Regions from separate parts of the Homo sapiens genome. Here regions 1 and 3 are each linked to region 2. The links are contacts of gene promoters, found by promoter capture Hi-C in human tissues and cell types (Jung and others, 2019). All regions are on one chromosome and are shown on one strand. Each heading gives the region's core, a stretch centred on a gene start or on the middle of the fragment in contact. The rest is flanking DNA. Distances are from core to core; before and after follow the strand shown. Region 1 overlaps FERMT2 (FERM domain containing kindlin 2). Region 2 holds the start of FERMT2 (FERM domain containing kindlin 2). Region 3 overlaps FERMT2 (FERM domain containing kindlin 2).

Region 1 (4,228 bases), core at 1,587-4,086, 50 kb after region 2:
TTCTCCTTAATTTTCAACATGATCAAATACATTTTTGGATTATAGTCAATCTCCCCACTTTTCTTTTTTTCTTCCTAGACATCCTCTTGCACTCTGGGGTGAATATTTTCTTGGCCAAGGTGTACAGTCACAGCCCTAGGATTTCCCTTCAGCATCATCTTCTCTCTTGTATTTGATCTTTGAGTTTTCCTCAGTGTTGATTTGCTCTCTTATTTTGGTGGAATATATTCTCCATCAGGGTAGTAAGAAAAAGGTGAATAGGATGTAAATTTTTGAGATACTATATTTCTCTTTATTCTGCCCTTTGATAGAATTGTTGGATCAAAAATTATTTTTCTCTCAGAATTTGGAAGTCATTGTTAAATTATCTTTTGGCTTCCAATGTTGCTATTAATAGTCCTGGTAGTGTTTTTTTTTTCTTTTTTCTTTTATTTATTTTCTTTTCTTAAGAGACAGGGTCTTGCTCTGTTGCCCAGGCTGGACTGCAGTGACACAATCACAGCTCACTCTAATCTCTAACTCCTGGCCTCAAGTAATCTTCCTGCTTCAGCTTCTCCAGTAGCTGAGACTACAGGTGTGCACCACCATGCCTGCCTAATTTTTAAATTTTTTGTAGAGATGGGGTATCACTATGTTGCCTAGACTGGTCTTGAGCTCCTGACCTCAAGCAGCCCTCCCACCTTCGTCTCCCAAAGTGCTGAGATTACAGGCATGAGTCACCATGCCTGGCCTCCTAATAGTGTTCTTGATTTTTATTTTTAATCTTCTTTGTAGACTGCCTTTTCTCACTGGAAACTTTTAGGATCTTTTCTTTTCCCTGCCATTTTGAAATTTTGTAACAATGTGCCCTGCCTGGTTAGGGTTTTATTTTCATTCATTGTGATGGAGACTTCTGACCAGGGGATATTTCTTGTATTTATGCAGAGTTGTTTCATAATATTATTTCCTTGGTAATTTCCTCCTCTTTGTTTTCTCTGTTCTCGCTGTTACTGTTAGTCAGACATTGTTCTTGGATCGATCCACTTGCTTGACTTTATATTGGATTTTTTTTTTTTTTTTGGTGGCTATCACATTTTAATTTTCAGTGTTTTGGGGTTTTTTTTTTTTTTTTTTTTTTTGAGACGGAGTCTTGCTCAGCCACCCAGGCTGGAGTACAGTGGTGTGACCCCAGCTCACTGCAGCCTCCACCTCCTGGGTTCAAGTGATTCTCCTGCCTCAGCCTCCCAAGTAGCTGGGATTACAGGCACTCACAACCATGCCTGGCTCATTTTTATATTTTTAGTAGAGATGGGGTTTCACCATGTTGCCCAGGCTGGTCTCGAATTCCTGACTTTGGGTAATCCACCCGCCTCGGCCTCCCAAAGTGCTGGGATTACAGGCATGAGACACTGTGTCTGGCCAGTTTTCAGTGTTTTATATTTCTATCTGGATGTTTGTTATATAGGTATTCTTAAATATATTTAAGATTTGTGGACTTTATATAAGTTATACTTCAACAGAATAGTGAAAATAATGGAAAGGACCCTTCCCCCTCTGTTGTTAATATCTAAAGTCTCTTAATCTCTCTCTCTCTTTTTTTTTTGTTTTTGTTTTGAGACAGAGTTTTGCTGTTGTCGCCCAAGCTGAAGTGCAATGGTGCAATCTCGGCTCACTGCAACCTCCGCCTCCTAGGTTCAAGCAATTCTCCTGCCTCAGCCTCCTGAGTAACTGGGACTACAGATGCACGCCATCATGCCCAGCTAATTTTTGTATTTTTAGTAGAGACAGGGTTTCACCATGTTGGCCAGGCTGATCTTGAATTCCTGACCTCAAGTGATCCACCCACCTCGGCCTCCCAAAGTGCTGGGATTACAGGCGTAAGCCACCGTGCCCGGCCTCTCATTGTTTTTTATATTATCCTGTTTATCTCTTCTAGATGTCATTGTCTTTTTCTCAGCCTCTTCATTAAGCACGTTGTGTTTTGTTCTCTGTAGTCTGCATTGTGTCTGTTTCTCATAAGTTATTTTTCTTTTTGTTTGGTCTCTGTCTTTCCTGTTAGAAGGTTTGTTGGTGTTGCATTGCTGCCATAACAAATTACCATAAATTTAGCAGCCTGAAACAACACGAATTTATCTCACAGTCACTGTAGGTTAAAGGTGTGTACACGTGGCTCACCTGTGTCCTCTATAGACTCTTAAGTGGCTGAAGTTAAGGTGTCAGCAGGGCTGCGTTCCTTCCTGGAGGCTGTGAGAATGAATTTTGCTTGGTAGAATTTGGTTCTTTGTGATTGTAAGACTAAGATTCCCTCTGGCTTGTCTGCTAGGGGTCATTCTCAGCTCCTAGAGGCTCTCCACATTGCTTGTTGCCCCCTTCCTCTATCTTCAAAGCCAGTAACAGCAAGTCAAGGTCTTCTGTCTGAATTTATCTGACCACTCCTTCTGTCTCATCTCTCTTCTTCCTGCCTCTTCTGTGCTGGAGGCCTCATGTGATTACGTTGGGCTCACCCAGATAACCCAGGATAATCTCCCTAAAATCATTTGATAAGTGATCTTAATTCATTTGCAAAAACTCCTCACAGCAGTACCTAGATTGGTGTTTGTGTAACCATGGGTAGGGATATTAAACTTCAGTATTCTGCCCACCCCAGAAGCCTTTCTCAAGTGTCTAGTAATCATTGGCTGGCTGTTCCTATGTTTAATGCTGGGGCTTTTTTTTTTTTTTTTTTTTGAGACAGAGTCTCGCTCTGTCGCCTAGGCTGGAGTGCAGTGGCGCGATCTCGGCTCACTGCAAGCTCCGCCTCCCGGGTTCAAGCCATTCTCCTGCCTCAGCCTCCGGAGTAGCTGGGACTACAGGCGCCCGCCACAACGCCCAGCTAATTTTTTTTTTTTTTTTTTTTTTTTTTGTATTTTTAGTAGAGACCGGGGTTTCACCACGTTAGTCAGGATGGTCTCCATCTCCTGATTTCGTGATCCGCCCGCCTCGGCCTCCCAAAGTGCTAGGATTACAGGCATGAGCCACTGCGCCTGGCCTGGGGCAATATCAGTACCTAATAGGAAGCTCTATATTGGGTGGAGTTTAGCTCATCATCCCTCTGTAAGGTATTTAGACATATTGAGCAAGCTTTTTCAAACATCACTATCTAAAAGATCTTTTCCCTAGGGCTATTCAGGTTCTGTTTGTAAAGGATCCTAAAGGGTGTGTGTCTGTGGAGTAGGTTACCTGAGTTTAATTCAGTAATGGAACAGGAAAGGGATGCTGGGGCGGACTAAATTTTTTCAGGTAGTCTATCTGTTTTCTGTGCCTCAGTTTGATGATTAGAACAGTGAATCAGGGTGTTACCCATTGGTACCTCCTTCTACAAACACCTTGGTTTTATATTTCTCCAGTTTACAAAGTTACTGTTCCATCTGACTTCTGCTTCCCAAAACTTTTCTGAGATTTCTTATCCCATATTTTCTTCCATTTTGGGGGCCCTTATAGGTTTATGTTTTCTTTATTTTTTACGTGATTTTGAAAGGAGTGAAAATAAATGCACGTATTCAATATACTTTTTTAACCAGAAACGCTTTATCTTCCCTGAGAACCCTTCTTTACCTCAGTTTCTCAATTCCCCTCACCCTCATGCTTTTTTATATGTATAGTATTTATATAGCCTGTGTAGATTAGACTAGATTCATCTTCTGTTTGATAACATGCTAATTATAATGAACATTAAATTTCGTTGCTATCACTGGGTGTAGTGGCTCAGGCCTGCTGCATTCCCAGTATTTTGGGAGGCTGAGGCAGGAGGATTGCCTGAGCCTGGGAAGTCGAGGCTGCTGTGACCTGTGAGCACACTAACACTACTTCATTCCAGCCTGGGTGACAGTGAGCCCCTATCTTTAAAACAAACAAACAAACAAAAAAAAACATTGCTATATATTCTGTTATAGAGGTTCTGGAGCATTGCTTTGTGTAGTGCCTCATAAATGCTAGCTTATCCTTATTGAAATGTAAAATTGAGCATAAATTAGTATAGTATTTTGGTATGGCTATTTTAAAGTTTTCATGTCTCACAGTCCTCTGGGTATGTTTTATTTTGGTATAAATCTTGTTTACTTACTTATGTTCTTCTCCAGCCCCACTCTTACACATTTAGAAATCTTATACAGATTTCTAAGTCTGTTAATTACTTCTTGATACAAGGCATACAGTAAATCAGTAAGTCCTAAATTCTCATGTCAGTGAAATGATCAGTATCTTAATGTGG
Region 2 (3,895 bases), core at 617-3,116:
TTGAGTTGGCAGAAAATAAAGAATAAAAGAAAGAAAAAACTTCCGTGATCTCAAGACCCAGAGAGCTTCTTAACATTTTGCTGTATTTCCTTACAGTCTTTTTCTCTGAACATTTAACGTAAATAAGCTCTTAATTTTATAGCTGCATATCCAGTTCTGCAGTTTTGTGCCCTAACAAGCAATTCCTTAATTTATTAAAAACATTTTCCTGTATATTTTCAACCCCATAATTTACATAAACTCCCTCATCTCCGGACATTCATATTGCTTTCAAGTGAACTATTTGGAACGTCCACGAGTAGAAATATTGGAGAGTAGACAGATAAGAGACTGAAGGCATCAATTTCTCCATGATAACTAGCTAAAAACACTGTAGTGGTTTTCCCTATTTTTTTTTCTGCCAAGCCTTTGGCATCTGACTAAATTTTGCTGCTTTCACTCCTTTCTGAGTTCCACCCCTTTCTTGAGGCCTCTCATCTTGTTTCCCAGTAATGTTAATGAACAAAAGGTTATCTGCCTAGCGAGTTCCTTTTCCAAGCGTTTGAGACAATTCGACAAGATTATGAGACTGCGAACTGGAGTCTTTTATCTTTAAAAGGTATTTTAATCTGAGCCTTCTTGACGTTTATTTTCTGAGCCCATGAATTTGCTAGCGAGGCAGTTTCTCTGGTTTGCTGTTTCTGAAAGGAGTTCCCTCAACAGAGTACAACAGTTAATGGGGGAAGTGGAAACAAAAGCGGGAAGCAGGAGGACCGTTCCCCATCACTAGCCAGTCTTCAACAGGTGAAGTTGTTTAGCTCTTCCTGGTACCTGCAGGCACCGTTCCAGAAGTATTAAAATCCAAGGTGTGGCTGAGGGTGGGATGGAACATGTATCTCCATCTAACAGCTTTAATAGACTGTTAGTTCTAACTTGCATATAAAAACACACAAATAAGTACAAAGAGCTGGAGAAGCTGGGGAAACAGTTTCTGAGTAAAACCTGTGGCACTAGGTTGTGTCTTTCCTTTCCCCTCAGGCAAGAGCATCATCTGTTTGACTGGCATCTGGCTGGAGCGTCCGAAGGGGTTAAGAACGCTTGCAAACTCCTGGGAGTCCAGTAGGAGTTGCTGATGGTGCCGGACATTGCTTGCAAAGCAATTTTTGTGGTTCACCTCCCTCGGGGTTTTCTTATTCTTTTGTAGGACATTCAAGGAGTTGGTTTGGGCATTTACTTTTTAAAGTTTCTCCGTCCCAGACTCCTCTCTCCAGCTCCCGGGGTGCGGCACCTCTCACCTCCCTGAGGCTTTTTGTCTCGCTGCAGGCGTGGGGAGGGGGCGAGAGGACTTTGTTCTCCGAAAACGACCTTGCCCTGGGAATTTCCTGGGGCCGTTTCTCACGGACAAGCCCCCTCTCCCTGCTGCCAGCGCGGACACACGCCGCGGGGGCCCCAGTCCAGCCTGAGCTCTAGACGCCCCGCCGGCCACCAGCGCCCCGGGAAAGGCCGCCCGCGCTCCCCCGCTCCCCCTCCTCAGGGCCCGCCGCCTAGAGCCCGGATGTTGGATTCAATTCCTGAGCCGGGTCCTTCATTTCCATAAAAGGGCAGCGCTCCGCGGGGCCGAGATTGCCGCCCCGCCGCGCCCCCCGCCACCCCCGCGCCGCCCCGCCCCACGCCGCCCCGCCCCGCCCGGGACCCGCAGCCCCCTCCCCCGAGCGCGGCGCCGGGAGGGCGGGGGCAGAGGCGAGGCCGGCCGGACCCGCTCAGGGCAGCTCTGCGGGCGGCGAAGGAGGGAGCCAGCGCGCCCAGCCCAGCCAGGCTCGGACAGAGGGGGCGGGGAGAGGGTGGAGCGCGGGGAGCCAGGCGAGGGGCCGCGACGACGGGACTCCATTAGCCGCTCCGGCCACAGGCAGCGCTTCGCCAGCCGAGGAACCGGACGCGGACACCGCCGCCCCGCGAGCCTCCAGCCCCTCGCCTGTTGCCGCGCGAGTCCCGGGCCCGGAGCGCTAGGAGCGCGCGGTGAGGGAGCGGGACCCCGCCGGGACCCGAGGGGGCGCGGCGGGGAGGGGAACGGGGAGTCAGCCCGCGCTGTGTCTCGGGGCCGGCCGGCAGGTGAAGCCCTCCGCGGTCCGCTAGGCGGGGACGGTGTGGGGCGGGCGGCGCCGGGACCGAGGAACGCTGCGGGGCGAGCGGGGCGTAGGGTCCTCCCGCAGCCCCGGCCGCCGCCGCCCTCCCGAGTTTCTGCCGAAAGCCCCGGGTCCTCCACCACCTCCCAGCCCGTGGCCGGCGCTGCGAATTCGGTGGGATTCGCCTTTCTTTGGGGGAGTGACGCTTACGAGAGCCATTTCCTCCGCGCTCGCAGGAAGGAGCCATGGCTCTGGACGGGATAAGGATGCCAGATGGCTGCTACGCGGACGGGACGTGGGAACTGAGTGTCCATGTGACGGACCTGAACCGCGATGTCACCCTGAGAGTGACCGGCGAGGTGCACATTGGAGGCGTGATGCTTAAGCTGGTGGAGAAACTCGGTGAGTAGCATCCCAGCCGCGTCCAACTAATGACTTCCCAGAATTGGTAGGGGGAGGAAAGAGGCTCACGACGGGGGAGGGGCCCATTTGAGAAATCTTGGCATCTCGCAAATGCTTTTTGGAGATGTAAAATCTTTCAGTATTTAAGCAGATAGACCTGTTCCCCTTTGCGTCTTATTTTGTTTTGCTATTCTCTGAATTTTCATATGTAATGATTCGAGCCTCCCAATTATAACCTTAATTGCGTAGTTACGCGGGACGGGGGATGTGTGCCGGGGAACTCGTTAATTCTTAACATTTACTGACAGAACGATAAAAGAATGAGGAAAGTGTGTTGGGAGGGTGATATTACAGTGTCCGTGGTTATCTATGTCTTCAGCATACCTGAATGTTAGTGACGTTTGGTATAGAGAATGATGCAAAATCCATTTAAGAAAAATCTGTGCTGGAAAATGTGCAACTACTGGCGCCAGTGTGAAGTTTCTGTGGCTGTTCTACGTGGTGGAGTGCATTAAAATGTTCCAGTCATCCACTCTTACTAGGGGTGGGGCAGTGCTTGACAAACTTGGTATCCATAGTCCATGCTCGATGTAAGCCGTTTCGAGCGTTCGGTTTTATATTAATAACAAGCCAAGGAAAGAACTTTGTGTTAAAAAGCAGACTTTGTTAAACTAATTTGAGGTTGACGGTGTTTGCTTGAGTACAAATATGTATTGGATTGATATCCGATTTAAAATAATAAGGTATCTTACAGTATGAAGTGTGTGAAGAGTGTGCAGTACACATTTTTGTGATGAATGAAACCATTTTCATCTGGAAGAGTCAGCTAAATAGATGATTTGATCATAAGAGAAATGCTCAGAGAACTATCTTCCTGAGCTTTAAAGAGCCTTTTGTACATAATACAGTTGTGATAAGATGATTATCTGTGTGGCATTGTCTTTTTAGGCTGGAATTGTTTTTTGTTTTGGTGAAGGGGGGTTGGGGACTTTCTGGGGGTTTTTTTCGTCTTTTTTTTTTTCTTTTTTTTTTTAAACACAGCATTCGTTTTCAAGCTACACTGGGAAAGTAGAGAAGTGCTTATTTGTCAGGAAATCTATTTCTTACCAAAGGATTATTGTATGTAAAGGTACTGAAATAGCACTCTGATGCATTTTGCAAAATAAGGCAGGATTCATTTGGGTGGACCTGCTTTGTACCCCTGCAGGAAGTTTTATTATTGAAGGACCAAAGTGAAGCTCCTTACAAGGTAGCCTCTTCCTTAAGACTGCATTGTTTGGCTCCCTGAGATACAGCTCAGGAAAGAAAATCCTCCTAGGTAGCCCAGTGAAAATTAGATTTTGCTGTATTGATTAACCATTTAACTGGCAGTTAACAGTATTTTTATCTGA
Region 3 (4,050 bases), core at 762-3,261, 33 kb after region 2:
ACTTCATAAACCACAGTCTGTTCAGTTTCTCATCAGAATGTTATTGTCCATTCCTATAGGACGAGTTCCAAGCCCACCAACTCCTTGTCTTTATTAATCCTTCCTATTCTAGCCCTCAGGATTCTGTTTTCTGAGAATAAGAGGGTACTTTCTCTGTCATCCATGTGTCCCATTTTGTAGTTGACTCAAACATTCTTAGTTGCCCTATATATTCTGCCTCAGCTGCCTTGTGTACTGGCTTTTCAGGACAGAGCGTGTTTTCTCAGCTGTTAATGTTTCTTTTGTACCTGTCACATAACAGTAACTTAGTAGTTAATTATTGCTGTTAAATACCCAATTATCTAGTTTTCTGCTTTTAATTTCTCAAAATCACCTTGGTGATTTTTAAGTGATTTGTTTATTGTTTGTTTTTTATAGATGTAAAAAAAGATTGGTCTGACCATGCTCTCTGGTGGGAAAAGAAGAGAACTTGGCTTCTGAAGACACATTGGACCTTAGATAAGTATGGTATTCAGGCAGATGCTAAGCTTCAGTTCACCCCTCAGCACAAACTGCTCCGCCTGCAGCTTCCCAACATGAAGTATGTGAAGGTGAAAGTGAATTTCTCTGATAGAGTCTTCAAAGCTGTTTCTGACATCTGTAAGACTTTTAGTAAGTATTACATAAATTCTTCTTAAAATACGAGTTATGTGATGTACAGATGACCGATGACTGACATAGCTTATCCCAAGGGATGGGGCATGGGCTGAACTATCTGTATATATGTATGTGTGTGAAATTTCTACTTCATTAAAGTTTTTATATTAAGATAAATGCTGGGTTAAGGTGGAACAGGAAGAACCTAGTAGAGATTCTTTCCTTACTAGAATTGTATCTGATATTTAATACTTTATTTTTATGGAGAGGTTAAAGGAACAGGCACTATTTTCAGGGGAACATACATGGCTTTGCAATGTTTCCTTCACATAAGTCACTATTTGATTTTAGTGATTCAGGCAGATTGTGTCACTTCCTCCATTGAAGGCCTGACACAGCTCCTAAGGAAATGACTATGAGTGTTGTCTTCCTTCACCAGTCTACAATTTGAACATCTCTGTAGTATTTCTATTTATGCATTCTGAAATGAGATGTGGGTTACTTTGGCTGACCCAGTTATGTCATATGACAGGAAGTATTCAACCATCTGAGAAAATGTGAACTGCTGTCACTACCACTAGTGCAGAACTCTGCTGTATTTTTTCCTATTTGAGAAATTCTTGGTTAAAGATACATTTAGTGACTTCTCATATTTTAATTCCAAATAAAGTACTGCAGTTTTTTATTCATGTTAAATTTTTAAATTATACTAGTAATTTATAAATACACTCTGTTGTAAAAGAATCAATGAATATAGACATACATAGTAAGCTCCCCCTTCCCCTAAGTAATCATTCTTGACAGTTTGGTGATTTTCTATGCATTTATTTGTCCATACATATCGGATTTTTTTTAATAAATAGGAGCATTTTATATGTATTTTTTAAACTTAGTAATGTCTTAGAGATCTTTCTATGTGTTATACATTCTTTTAAGCTGTAATTCAGAGTATAGACGTACTATTAATTTACATCCAATTACTTCTTGGCCTTTTTGGCTAAGATCAAGTATAATTTATAACCACATTTCCCTGTTAATGATCAGTTAGGTTGCTTCACTCTTAGAGCAAATGCTGCAACATTTTCAAATGTTTTAAATATTGCTGAAAACATTTGAAAATATTTTAGTTGGGCTAGCGCCAGAGTACCCAATCTTCCTTGCTGGTGTCAGCACCCACACTCACTGCTAGAGCCTGTGGGCAAATGCTGCTCCTGTACAATGCCTCAAGCACTGACCTGTGGACAGTATGGAGGTGCTGAGACTACCTACCTCTTAACCCAGAGCCCTGCCTGCTGCTTATGCCTGTAGGCTTGGAGCTTGGAGGAGTCTGAATCCTCACCCATTTCTTGTGTTTAGTTTGGGCTGTGGCTTCCCTTAAACCAATACCAACTTTTTTCTGTCTTCAAGAATCACTCATTATTTACCCTCTTACTGTAGTTTCCTGTCTCCTAGCACTGTTATGGATGTTCATCTTCCCTCCCCGCCTACAATTTTTAAATATCTTTTGCTGTCATTTCAGGGGATTCGGGATGTAGGAGGGGAGATACAGGTAGATTCACATTGCCTTTTTGATCTAATGCCCTTGAAATTTTTTTTAAAGTGAAACAGGGTTTTTATTATTATTATTAAAATAGAGAAAAATACAAAGAATACCAAATTCCCATTATCTGGAATTAATAATTGTTGATATTTTGTCATTTTGTCAAATGACAAATATGACTTGAAGTCAAAGTAATACTGGTAAAATTCTTGAGTCTCATTATCCTAACTTCCCTTTACAAAGCAACTACTATCATAAGTTCAGTGTGTATCCAGTACTGTAAAATACACAGACACACACATACACACACACACACACACACACACGTATCTCTGTGTGTATATATCCATAAACTGTATATGTTATTGCCATTACCACGTAGGTATTTTCTTACTAAGTTTTGTACGTGTGTGCAAGAATTTCTCTCGAGTATCCACCTAGAAGTAGAAGTAAAATTGCTGTTTTAAATATATACATAATTCATTTCAGAGTACTGTCAAATTGTCTCCCAGTTGGTTATACCAGTTTATATTCCAACTAGCAATGTATGAAAACCCGTTGCCACAAATCCTCACTAACACTTGATTATGGTCTGTTTTGTTGTTTTTGTTTCCAAGAGAAAAAGACAGTATTTTGTTTTAGTTTACAAAGCTAAATATGTTTTTAAATCATTATTGGACATCTAAGTTCCTTTTTTTAATTGTTTATATCATTTGTCCATTTTTGAGAAATTAATAAACTGTAGTTTTTACAGGAGTTGTAGGTTCACAGCAAAGTTGAGCAAAAGTACAGAGAATTCCCACATACCCTCTGTCCTCACACATGCACAACCTTCCCTACTCTCAAAGTCTGTACCAGAATGGTACATTTATTGTAACTGGTGAACCTACCTTGACATACCATTATCACTCAGTGACAGTAGTTTATGTTAGGGTTCACTTCTGGTGTTGTACATGCTGTGGGCTTGGAAAAATATATACTCGTGTATCTACTGTTGTGGTATTGTACAGAATAGTTTGACTGTCCTAAAAATCTTCTGTGCTCTGCCTATTCATCCCTCTCTCCTCATCACCACCACTCATCCTTTTACCTAGTTTTGCCCTTTCCAGAATATCATATGTTTGGACTCATACAGTATGTAGCCTTTTCATATTGGTTTCTTTCACCTCGTAATAGGCATTTAAGTTTCCTCCATGTTTTTTTGTGGCTTGATAGCTTATTTCTTTTTTTTTTCTTTTCTTCTTCTTTTTTTTTTGAGACGAGTCTCGCTCTGTTGCCCAGGCTGGAATGCAATGGCGTGATTTTGGCTCACTGCAACCTCCACTTCCCGGGTTCAAGCAATTCTTCTGCCTCAGCCTCCCAAGTAGCTGGGATTACAGGCACCTGCCACCAAACCGGGCTAATTTTTGTATTTTTAGTATAGATGGGGTTTCATCATGTTGGCCAGGCTGGTCTCGAACTCCTGACCTCAGGCGATCCACCCACCTCCGCCTCCCAAAGTGCTGGGATTACAGGTGTGAACCACCAAGCCCAGCCAGCTCATTTCTTTTTAGTGCTAAATAGTATTCCATCGTCTGGATGTGTCACAGCTTGTTTATCCACTCACCAAACGATATCTTGGTTGCTTCATTTTGAATAAAGCTGCTGTAAACATCTGTATGCAGGCTTTCAAGTGGACATATGTCTGTTCGTCCATTCTTCTTTTGTTTTATCGTTCACCATTGATTTGTAGTTCTTTATAAATTCTAATATGTGCTGCAGATAATTTCTCCTGGTCTATTATAAACCTTTGTTCGTGATTGATTTTATGTACTTTTTATTTTTGTCTTTTTTGGTCATGTAGAAGTTAACATTGGTTTGTGTTTGTGGGGTAT

What was found. Contacts are between HindIII fragments. The study calls those that stand out against the background at their distance.
Region 1: a contact is called between a fragment that was not itself captured here and the fragment with the promoter of FERMT2 in region 2, in 1 of the 25 tissues and cell types used here (stomach).
Region 3: a fragment that was not itself captured here is called in contact with the fragment with the promoter of FERMT2 in region 2 in 2 of the 25 tissues and cell types used here (aorta and liver).

Annotation. Positions count from the first base shown.
Region 1 is chr14:52,899,759-52,903,986 of GRCh38, reverse strand. The region is part of intron 3 of FERMT2 (FERM domain containing kindlin 2); the gene reads left to right. The region is part of intron 2 of LOC105370500 (a long non-coding RNA gene); the gene reads right to left. Among named protein-coding and RNA genes, the nearest start is that of FERMT2, 49 kb to the left of the region's middle. The HindIII fragment of the contact is 5,006 bases long and covers 334-4,228 here.
Region 2 is chr14:52,949,021-52,952,915 of GRCh38, reverse strand. It overlaps FERMT2 (FERM domain containing kindlin 2), which reads left to right and starts at 1,866. Exons shown (of 15, transcript NM_006832.3): 1 at 1,866-1,995; 2 at 2,339-2,504. The coding sequence starts at 2,348. RefSeq lists an enhancer at 589-1,167 and a silencer at 1,888-2,097. The HindIII fragment of the contact is 21,614 bases long and covers 1-3,895 here.
Region 3 is chr14:52,915,724-52,919,773 of GRCh38, reverse strand. It overlaps FERMT2 (FERM domain containing kindlin 2), which reads left to right. Exons shown (of 15, transcript NM_006832.3): 3 at 418-651. The region is part of intron 2 of LOC105370500 (a long non-coding RNA gene); the gene reads right to left. Among named protein-coding and RNA genes, the nearest start is that of FERMT2, 33 kb to the left of the region's middle. RefSeq lists an enhancer at 1,046-1,155. The HindIII fragment of the contact is 5,591 bases long and covers 1-4,050 here.